3 separate regions of the Homo sapiens genome follow, and all the other regions are linked to region 2. Evidence: promoter capture Hi-C in 16 types of primary human blood cells and fetal thymus (Javierre and others, 2016). All regions are on one chromosome and are shown on one strand. The core of a region is centred on a gene start or on the middle of the fragment in contact, and the rest is flanking DNA. Distances in the headings are between cores, read along the strand shown. Region 1 has its middle 120 kb from the start of CXCR4. Region 2 holds the start of DARS1-AS1 (DARS1 antisense RNA 1). Region 3 has its middle 60 kb from the start of CXCR4.

Region 1 (2,700 bases), core at 42-2,541, 250 kb before region 2:
CATTCAGGCCCCCATCTGCCTGGACCATTAGGCACTGCCACCATCATCTATGTGGTTAGACAGCACACATAGACCAGGGCCAGCCACTGCAGAGGTAACCGGCACTACCAGGCATCTCACAAGAGCATTGGCATTGAATGGCCTCTCTTTCTATCATGACCAGCTCAATTCCACTGATATTCCAGCTGGATCATGGCAAAGGCCTATTGACGAAAAACAATAGGGCTAGATCAAGGCTCTGGTGCACCTGAGTCACTGTGAGTCATATCCCCTGGAGGACCTTCTCAGCTCACCATTGTCATTAGTTAAAAAGACTCACGTAAGTCCGGCACACAGGAATGTCAAGTAGCAGCCAAGTTTGGGGGTGTTGTCCTTTGGCTTGGAAAATAATTCTCCACTAAGAAGTCCACTGATAATGGCACTCAAATGTCCCCCAAAGGTTGTTAATTTTAATTAGGGAGAATTTAAACTATAGCATCCGAAGGAATGACTAATATTTTAAAGAGTATGAGGTATTTGGTTTGCTTTGCCAGTCTTGTTTTAGCAATTTTGGTCATTCCTAATCTTCTGCAAGGACTTCCAAGGCTGAGTCTTAAGTCTGGCAAAGCAGAAACCACCCTGGTGCCTCCAAATTTTCCACCACCTTCTTCTTCACAGTATAAAATTGCCCAACCACCGTCACTCACGGACCCCTTTGTCCCCTTCTCTTCCCCTCCACCCCATAGAAGTTTGGCTGACAACCACGGTAAATGCTAATGGAAGAGATGTTGTAACTAAATGGCAGTGCATTTATATCTACATGTGTCTTCTGCAATATAAGATAAACAGACTAATCTTCCTCACCAAGCTTAGAGGGATAACGAACAAAAATTATAGTTGAGTAACCTGCCAACATAAATATTTCACAAAAGCTAAGCCACAGTAAATGGAGCCAAATTGTAGAATTGGAGTGGGACTTTCCAACAAAGATCTCCCTGAAGCATTCTCAAGTTCATTCTCTTAATAGAATAATTTCCAGTTATTTTGATATTTGGTTTTTCTAGATTTACTACCATTTTTACCATACTGATGAAATAAGTACTAATATTCATTTGCATAAAACAGCGATTTATTAGACACATGCAATGTGCCAGACATTATGCTAAACACTTTATATGGATTATCTCCTTTATCCTCAGAACAATTTTATGAGAAGGGGCTTCATTATCACCATTTTGCAGATAAGGAAATTGAGTCTCAAACAGGTGATACGATGTGGAGCCAGGAATCAAACACAAGCATCTCACCCATGGCCCATGTTCTTAACAGGGTTCATACCACATTTCCACATATGGGAAGAATCTGTGGCCCAGAGTGGTTACATTAGAGCACCTCCTCCCCTGAGAGCCACACAAGGGCCCATACCACCTTCCAGTTCATGGCTCCACCTTTGTCCTGCTCTCACAACCTTCCCAGACCTGGCCTATACCCACGTCTCCATCACTTTCCCATTCGCGGCTGCACATTTTCTTCTCTGTCCCCATCCATCACTCAGTTCCCCACCACCCCTAAATGAAATACACAAGCCAAACTTACTCCCACTGCTAGGCTTTTCTGCAAGCTGTTTCCTTCCCTGGAAGGCCTGCCTCCTCTTCGCCACCATTGGAGACCCTGGGTCAAGTCCCATCTCAAAACACCACCTTCTTACACAGCCCTCCTACCCTCTCTACCTCCTAGAAACTCATTTGAAGCTTAAATACTGCCTTCTGATATTGGTTAGCTTTGAATGCACACATATTATTAGCCCAACTAGCTTGCAAACTGCTAAACAGCATGAAACACACAGCCTGGCTCCTTTGAGTCACTTTCGCACCTAGCACAGGGCCTGGCTGCATCACTCAGCTCAGCCCCAAGGCAGTCAAGATAATTGAGTGCGTTCCAGCTGCAGGGGTATTTGGTATATATAAGACATCCCACATAACTGTTGGTTTGTGCTTGATTACCGTAACACAGCCCAAATCAATCCCTGAAAAGGGACAGGCCACAGTAGAACCAGTTCCCAGCTGTGACACCCACGTGGCCGCCCCTCACAACAGTGTGTCTGGGGCTTGTGGGAAAGCCCTAGGAATAGCCAGCTGTTCTTGCACATTGGAAGCTAAGGCAAGGATGCTACATTGGCCTTGGGGTGGAAACATGTACAGCATGCTTCTCAGATCCTCTCCGATCCTGAGTGTTCGAAAAAAATACCACTTACTGTTTTTGTTTTTATCATTCTCTAAGTAATACTATTTATGATTAAAAATAAAATAAAATAATGGGCCAAGTGCAGTGGCTCACACCTGTAATCCCAGCACTTTGGGAGGCCAAGGCGGGTGGATCACCTGAGGTCAGGAGTTCAGGACCAGCCTGGCCAACATGGTGACACCTCATCTCTACAAAAATACAAAAATTAGCTGGGCATGATAGTGGGTGCCTGTAATCCCAGCTACTCGGGAGGCTGAGGCGGGAGAATTGCTCGAACCTGGGAGGCAGGGGTTGCAGTGAGCCAAGATTGTGCCACTGCACTCTAGCCTCAGTGACAAGAGTGAGACTCTGTCTCAAATAATAATAATAATAATAATAACGGAAAATATGAAAAAGTATGAAGAATACATTTTTATTGTCATCTATTATCTCATCTTTTTGGTGTATTTCCTTCAGTTTGTTTTTTTATATCTGCCT
Region 2 (2,700 bases), core at 77-2,576:
GAAGGAAAGCTACAGGCAAGCAAGGACCATGGCTGTCTTCTCACTACTCCATGGGGGAGCCTCCAGAGAGAGCCTTTCACTTGCGCTGGGATCTATGTGCACCCCTTAACACTTTGTGCCAGACTAAGACACTACCAAGTCAGTTGAAACGACGGAGTGCAAACTCTGGCAGGGGAAACAGTATTAAACCAAATCTCCAAATTATTTTCAATTTCGATTCAAAACTCATGAATGATAGCTTTTTTAAAAAATCAGTTTTTTAAAAAAGCCTAACTTGGGGATATTCGCCCATTGGGCAACCAACACTATGCACTGTCCCTAACACTGCAACAGATCCAGGCAATCAATGCAATTGTATGCGTTTCTTGTTGTCGTTGCCACTGTATTTACACCTCACTTACACAGGGACTGGTAACCCATGCTGCCTTGGCAAGCCAACTGCACTCCTCTGTCCCAACAAGCAGGGCAATGGATTGCGAAGAGGCCTCCTCCGTCCCCAAGCAGCTACGTCGCCCAGGGGAAGAGAGAAGGCGGGAAAGTCCAAGAGAGGAGAAACCAAGGCCCGCGCTTAGGTGGGTGTTTTAGTGACGAGTCTGCGGTTACAGCCGAGCGGAGTTGAAAGGGCTGTTAGAAGAATGGAGCAGAAGTCGCAGTTGGGACGAAGCTGAAGAGAGCTGGCATTCGCCCAGGTCTACAGCCAGCCACCTGGTAACCCCTGCCCCCGCCCCCAGAGCCAATCCAGCGAAACTACCGCGAATTCCCGGGAATTCCCTCCAACTCCGGGAAAACTCCCGGAGGGGCGGGGCAAGAGTGGGAGGAGACCCTGCGCGCGGCCGCCAGCGCTCCGGGATCTCGAGATAGCCGCAGCTCTCGCGATCTTTCTGGAGCCGCACCTCCACGCGGAGTCCGAGCGCGTGTGCTGAGACCCCAGGGTCGGGAGGGCGGAGACTGGGAGGGAGGGAGAAGCCCCTTTGGCCTGCCTTACGGAAGCCTGCGAGGGAGGGTGGTGTCCACTGCCCAGTTCCGTGTCCCGATGCCCAGCGCCAGCGCCAGCCGCAAGAGTCAGGAGAAGCCGCGGGAGATCATGGACGCGGCGGAAGTGGGTTTCCTCCTTTCCTGGGCCTGGGAGGACAGACCCCTGGGCCGGGCTGCGCCGAGGGAGGGAGGAGGGGGAGTGGGGCCCTACAGGTCCTTGTCGGCACGTTCTCCGCAGGCTGCGGGCGTGGGGTCCGGGCGCCTAGAGCCCTTGCCCCAGCAGTGGGGCCAGACCCTCTCCGGACCGCGTTTCTTGCGGGGGTCACCTGGGAGTTTGGCCTACTAGAAGCGTGTCCCCGGGGTGGGGAGGACGGGAAGAACCAGCCGCCCCGGAAGTAGGAGCGCGGCGTCACACTTGAGTCTCTCTGGGTTAGGCACGTCCTGCACGTAATGCACAATCCCTGGGAAAATTTTAATAAGCACTAGTAATCGATATGTACTCAGCCCTCGTGTTCCTAATGCTTTAGCAAGTAATGACAGTACTTAGCAAAACCATCTGCCAATATGTTTAATGACCATTTCCCATGTGACAGCTTTAAAGAACACATGTCATTTTTATTTACTTTCTCCCTCTCAGTGACCCGGTAAGGTAGGTAATAGGAGTTACCGAGAATGCATTTGAGGTGAAGTGACCCCAAATCACGTGGATAATTCATAACACCCAGTGATCCTTCGGTGCTTTTCAGAAATCAAAGTTTGAAACCATCCTACAAGTTATGTGTGCTGTAGTACTGTTAAGCCTTAATTTCCGTCTGGCTCCCTAATTTTTCTATAAGGAGTTCTGAGTTTGTGGTAAGCAACATGAGAAGTAAGGTCATCTTAGAATACTAAATGAGGAAGAGTCACTGAAATATTAATAGTACTAATTATGAATGCAACTTTTTTGTCCTTCACACAATTTAATCTCCTTCTGTTGCCCTCAGGCTTCATTGTGTGACTGTATCTCTCTACTCTGGCCAGGGTTATCTTTTTCTTTAAATTGTTCAGTAAGCGCCTTAAACATGTCTGGTTTTATTTTGGTGTAAACACAAAATCCAGCACCCTCCTGCTCTAAAGGAGAGGATTCCAACAGGTAGCTGTAAAGTGACAGAAACTTAATTGTTTCATACAGATCTTAAGTTACCTTGTAAAAACTAGGGCAATTATTTTTGTGTACTCTTAATCTGCTTAATTACATAAACTATCAGTGTACCCTTACAGATAGTATAGGTCTAGATACAAGGTAGACATTGTGGCAGAGTTATGCCATTTTATAGCTAGAAGAATCTTAGATCATTTTAGAGGTAAAGTAAGATTGAAATAAAGGCCACTTATCTATTTAATAAGTATATTTTGTTAACAGATTGGACCCTAGGTCTTCTGTTTCCTGTTCCTAACTCTAATCTGTAACAAGAAATTTGATATTATTATATTGTCAGTGTCAAACTCCTGTAACCTGGTATCCTGAATCTGGTTTTTAGAAACAGGAAGCTGGTGAATTTTTTGATGATGTTTTACAAAAGGAAAGTTGTAGTTAGCTTATACCCAGCATCTCCAGTTTCTAAAAACTGTGGACATCTGGTGCTCAGAAAGCTTACCCAAAACGTTGGTTCTCTTTGAACATTTCTTCCTGTAATAGGAAGTTAATAAAACTGTGGTACTTCATCCTACTCCCTTCACAGAGGA
Region 3 (2,700 bases), core at 195-2,694, 190 kb before region 2:
ACAACGAAATCTCACTCCCCAGAGAATTAGAAAAATAAGCCACCCAAATCCTATTCAATAGGGTAAATATTGGGATAAGATAAACATCTGAGCTGCCTTAAAAAGACCATTGTATTCAAGCAAACTGCCATTTCCTTACCTTAAGGAAGGCTCTGAATTCAGAAAGCCTGAAGCTCTGAGGAGAGGACCCAGCTATCGTAAAAGAAGGTTATTATTATAGTCACCTTTAGCCAGAGCCAACTAGTGACAAGTTCCAGTTGGTTTGCTCATCCATTTAGGAACCCTGCAGGGTTCAGATCTCTATCCCTATTTCACAAAGGCCCATCTCTCACCCCATTTTCACCAAGACTTTGTGGCTGCCTCCCTCCCATGCCCAATGGATGGACCAGATCAAACGATCTGACACCATCTTGGTTCAATTGCCTTGACTTGCACTGGGGCTCAGAAAATGATACCCCGAAGTATGGCGCTTGAGCATGCTAAGTACTTTGAACTGAAGGAAATTGGAAAGCTTCAGAAGCAAGGACTCTCTGACCTTCTCCTGCTCTCCTATCTCTTACCCCTCTTTATTTTCCCTGCCAAAGCAAGTCATAGAAATCAGAATTCCTCTTCCCTAAGGTGGCTCATAGAAACTAGAACCACTTTCCCCAAAAGCAAGCCATAAAAACCTAGAAAGGCCACCCTCTCCCTTCTCCCTTGAAGACCTTAATTTCAGAGGTTCCTGACTTATACCCCAGGGGAGGGACTGTTACAGAGAAAATCCAAGAAGAATCTGGACAGGCCCTGCTGGGTCTCCGGCTTCATGACCATTAGATCACACCCTTTTGTTCAATCACATTTCTATACAGCTGTCCATTTTTCATGAAACCTAAACATAAAAACAGAGATTTCCCTAGATTTTGGGGTCTGCATTTCTGAAGGCTCCCATGTCACATAACACGTGATTAAATACATTTGTTATGCTTTTCTTTGTTAGCCTAGCTTTTGTTATGGTGGTGACCCTTAAGATGGGTGAGAGATCATACCTTTCCCCCCTACGCTTTGCAGCATGACCTTAGGCTCAGGGTTCCTCCTTTAGCTTCATTCTCTCCATGTCTGTCTTTGTATTTGCCACCTTCTTTCTGGGATGATAAACTGGTCAACAGTAACAATGCTGGCTGCATTTCACTGAGTAACTTCCCACATGGTTCTAAACCCTTTGTATGTATTTATATTTTTTCTTTCTTTTTTTTTTTTTGAGATGGAGTCTTGCTCTGTCACCCAGGCTGGAGTGCAGTGGCACAATCTTGGCTCACTGCAACCTCCGCCTCCCAGATTCAAGCGATTCTCCCGCCTCAGCCTCCCGAGCAGCTGGGACTACAGGTGTGTGCCACCACACCCAGCTAATTTTTGTATTTTCAGTAGAGATGGCAGTTCACCATATTGGCCAGGCTGGTCTCAAACTCCTGACCTCGTGATCCCCCCACCTTGGCCTCCCAAAGTGCTGGGATTACAGGCGTGAGCCACCGCGCCCAACCTATATATAATTTAATCCTATAAATTTCTTACTATTAGGTTGGTGCAAAAGTAATTGCAGTTTTTGATATTTAAAAGTAATAGCAAAGACCACAACTACTTTTGCTCCAACCTAATATTATTAACCACATTTTTACAGAGGCATAGGAAGTCCAGTAACATACCAACTTTAAACCCTGTGTTTTTCATCAAAATTGAAGGCAGACAACAGATAGGAAGGGCCAGAGAGCAGTCTTGGCTTTTTTAAGCCCATGACTATATCCGTGAACCCTCCTGCTGATGTTTTCCCAAAGGGCCTGTCCAGCTGGTGTTGATCAGTCCTTTGCTTCAGACTGAAGGGTGAAAGTCTGGAACAAAGGACTTTGAAAGACTTGAGATGTTAAAAAGGCCATTTGATCTCAGAAAGTCACCAGAATTCCAGAAATTTCCTTAGGGTGCAAAGAGCTGCCAAAAAAGAAAGAGGAAAGGGAAAGGGAGGGGAGGGGAGGAAAAAGGAGGGAAGGGGAGGGGAGGAGAGGGAACAGGAAAGGGGAAAATGGAAAGGGGAAAGGAAAAAGGAAAGGAGAAAGGGACGGAGGGAAGGAGAGAGGAAGGGAGGAAGGAATGAAAGAAAAAGTCTTCTCTTGGTTCTGGATAACATGGAGGTACTTCATGAAACCACCTGGGTGTTCAGAAGCCCCAGCCAAAGGCATTGTCCCAAAGGGGCCACTGGGAAGTGGAGGCTTCTCTATGAAAAGTGCACTAAAGTACAGGCTAAGAAGGTGGAGAGAGAGGTCACAGTTTGGTATTCTCGTTTTAGGGGTTGGGTGGTAGGTTTTTTTGCACTAGTTGTTGGGTTTTTTAAAGTTTCTCCTGAAGCTTGTGTTTTCAGATGACTATCTTCTGAGCAGTCAAGCAAATGGACAAACACATTAAGGCAAAAACAAACATTTACATAGTCAGGGAAGTCGTTTCTCCCAAGTCCCCTAGTTCACAGGACCATATCCATTTAGGAATTAAAACAAGCTGACTTTTTTTTTTCTGAGGAGAGTGGATTCTTTCCAGAATTCCCATATCTAGAAAGCAGGAGAGAAACAAACTTTAATGACAGGGTCCTTTCTTCCCTTTCCACAAACGACCCAATTGTCATGAGTAATGCACTTTTTCTGTTTGCAGCCTCATCATGATCCAGCAAATGAACCCCAA

What was found. The method cuts DNA at HindIII sites, captures the fragments that hold promoters and counts their contacts. A CHiCAGO score of 5 or more calls a contact.
Region 1: a fragment that was not itself captured here is called in contact with the fragment with the promoter of DARS1-AS1 in region 2 in 4 of 17 cell types (monocytes, activated CD4 T cells, total CD8 T cells and 1 more); the score reaches 8.0 in monocytes.
Region 3: a contact is called between a fragment that was not itself captured here and the fragment with the promoter of DARS1-AS1 in region 2, in 1 of 17 cell types (neutrophils). The highest score is 5.0, in neutrophils.

Annotation. Positions count from the first base shown.
Region 1 is chr2:136,233,796-136,236,495 of GRCh38, reverse strand. No RefSeq gene overlaps it. Among named protein-coding and RNA genes, the nearest start is that of CXCR4, 120 kb to the right of the region's middle. RefSeq lists enhancers at 1-460, 1-756. The HindIII fragment of the contact is 883 bases long and covers 850-1,732 here.
Region 2 is chr2:135,983,802-135,986,501 of GRCh38, reverse strand. DARS1-AS1 (DARS1 antisense RNA 1) reads right to left here and starts at 1,326. Exons shown (of 4, transcript NR_110199.1): 1 at 986-1,326. DARS1 (aspartyl-tRNA synthetase 1) reads left to right here and starts at 876. Exons shown (of 16, transcript NM_001349.4): 1 at 876-1,099. The coding sequence starts at 1,034. RefSeq lists an enhancer at 1,030-1,129 and a silencer at 1,180-1,239. The HindIII fragment of the contact is 7,953 bases long and covers 1-2,609 here.
Region 3 is chr2:136,176,633-136,179,332 of GRCh38, reverse strand. No RefSeq gene overlaps it. Among named protein-coding and RNA genes, the nearest start is that of CXCR4, 60 kb to the right of the region's middle. The HindIII fragment of the contact is 1,862 bases long and covers 514-2,375 here.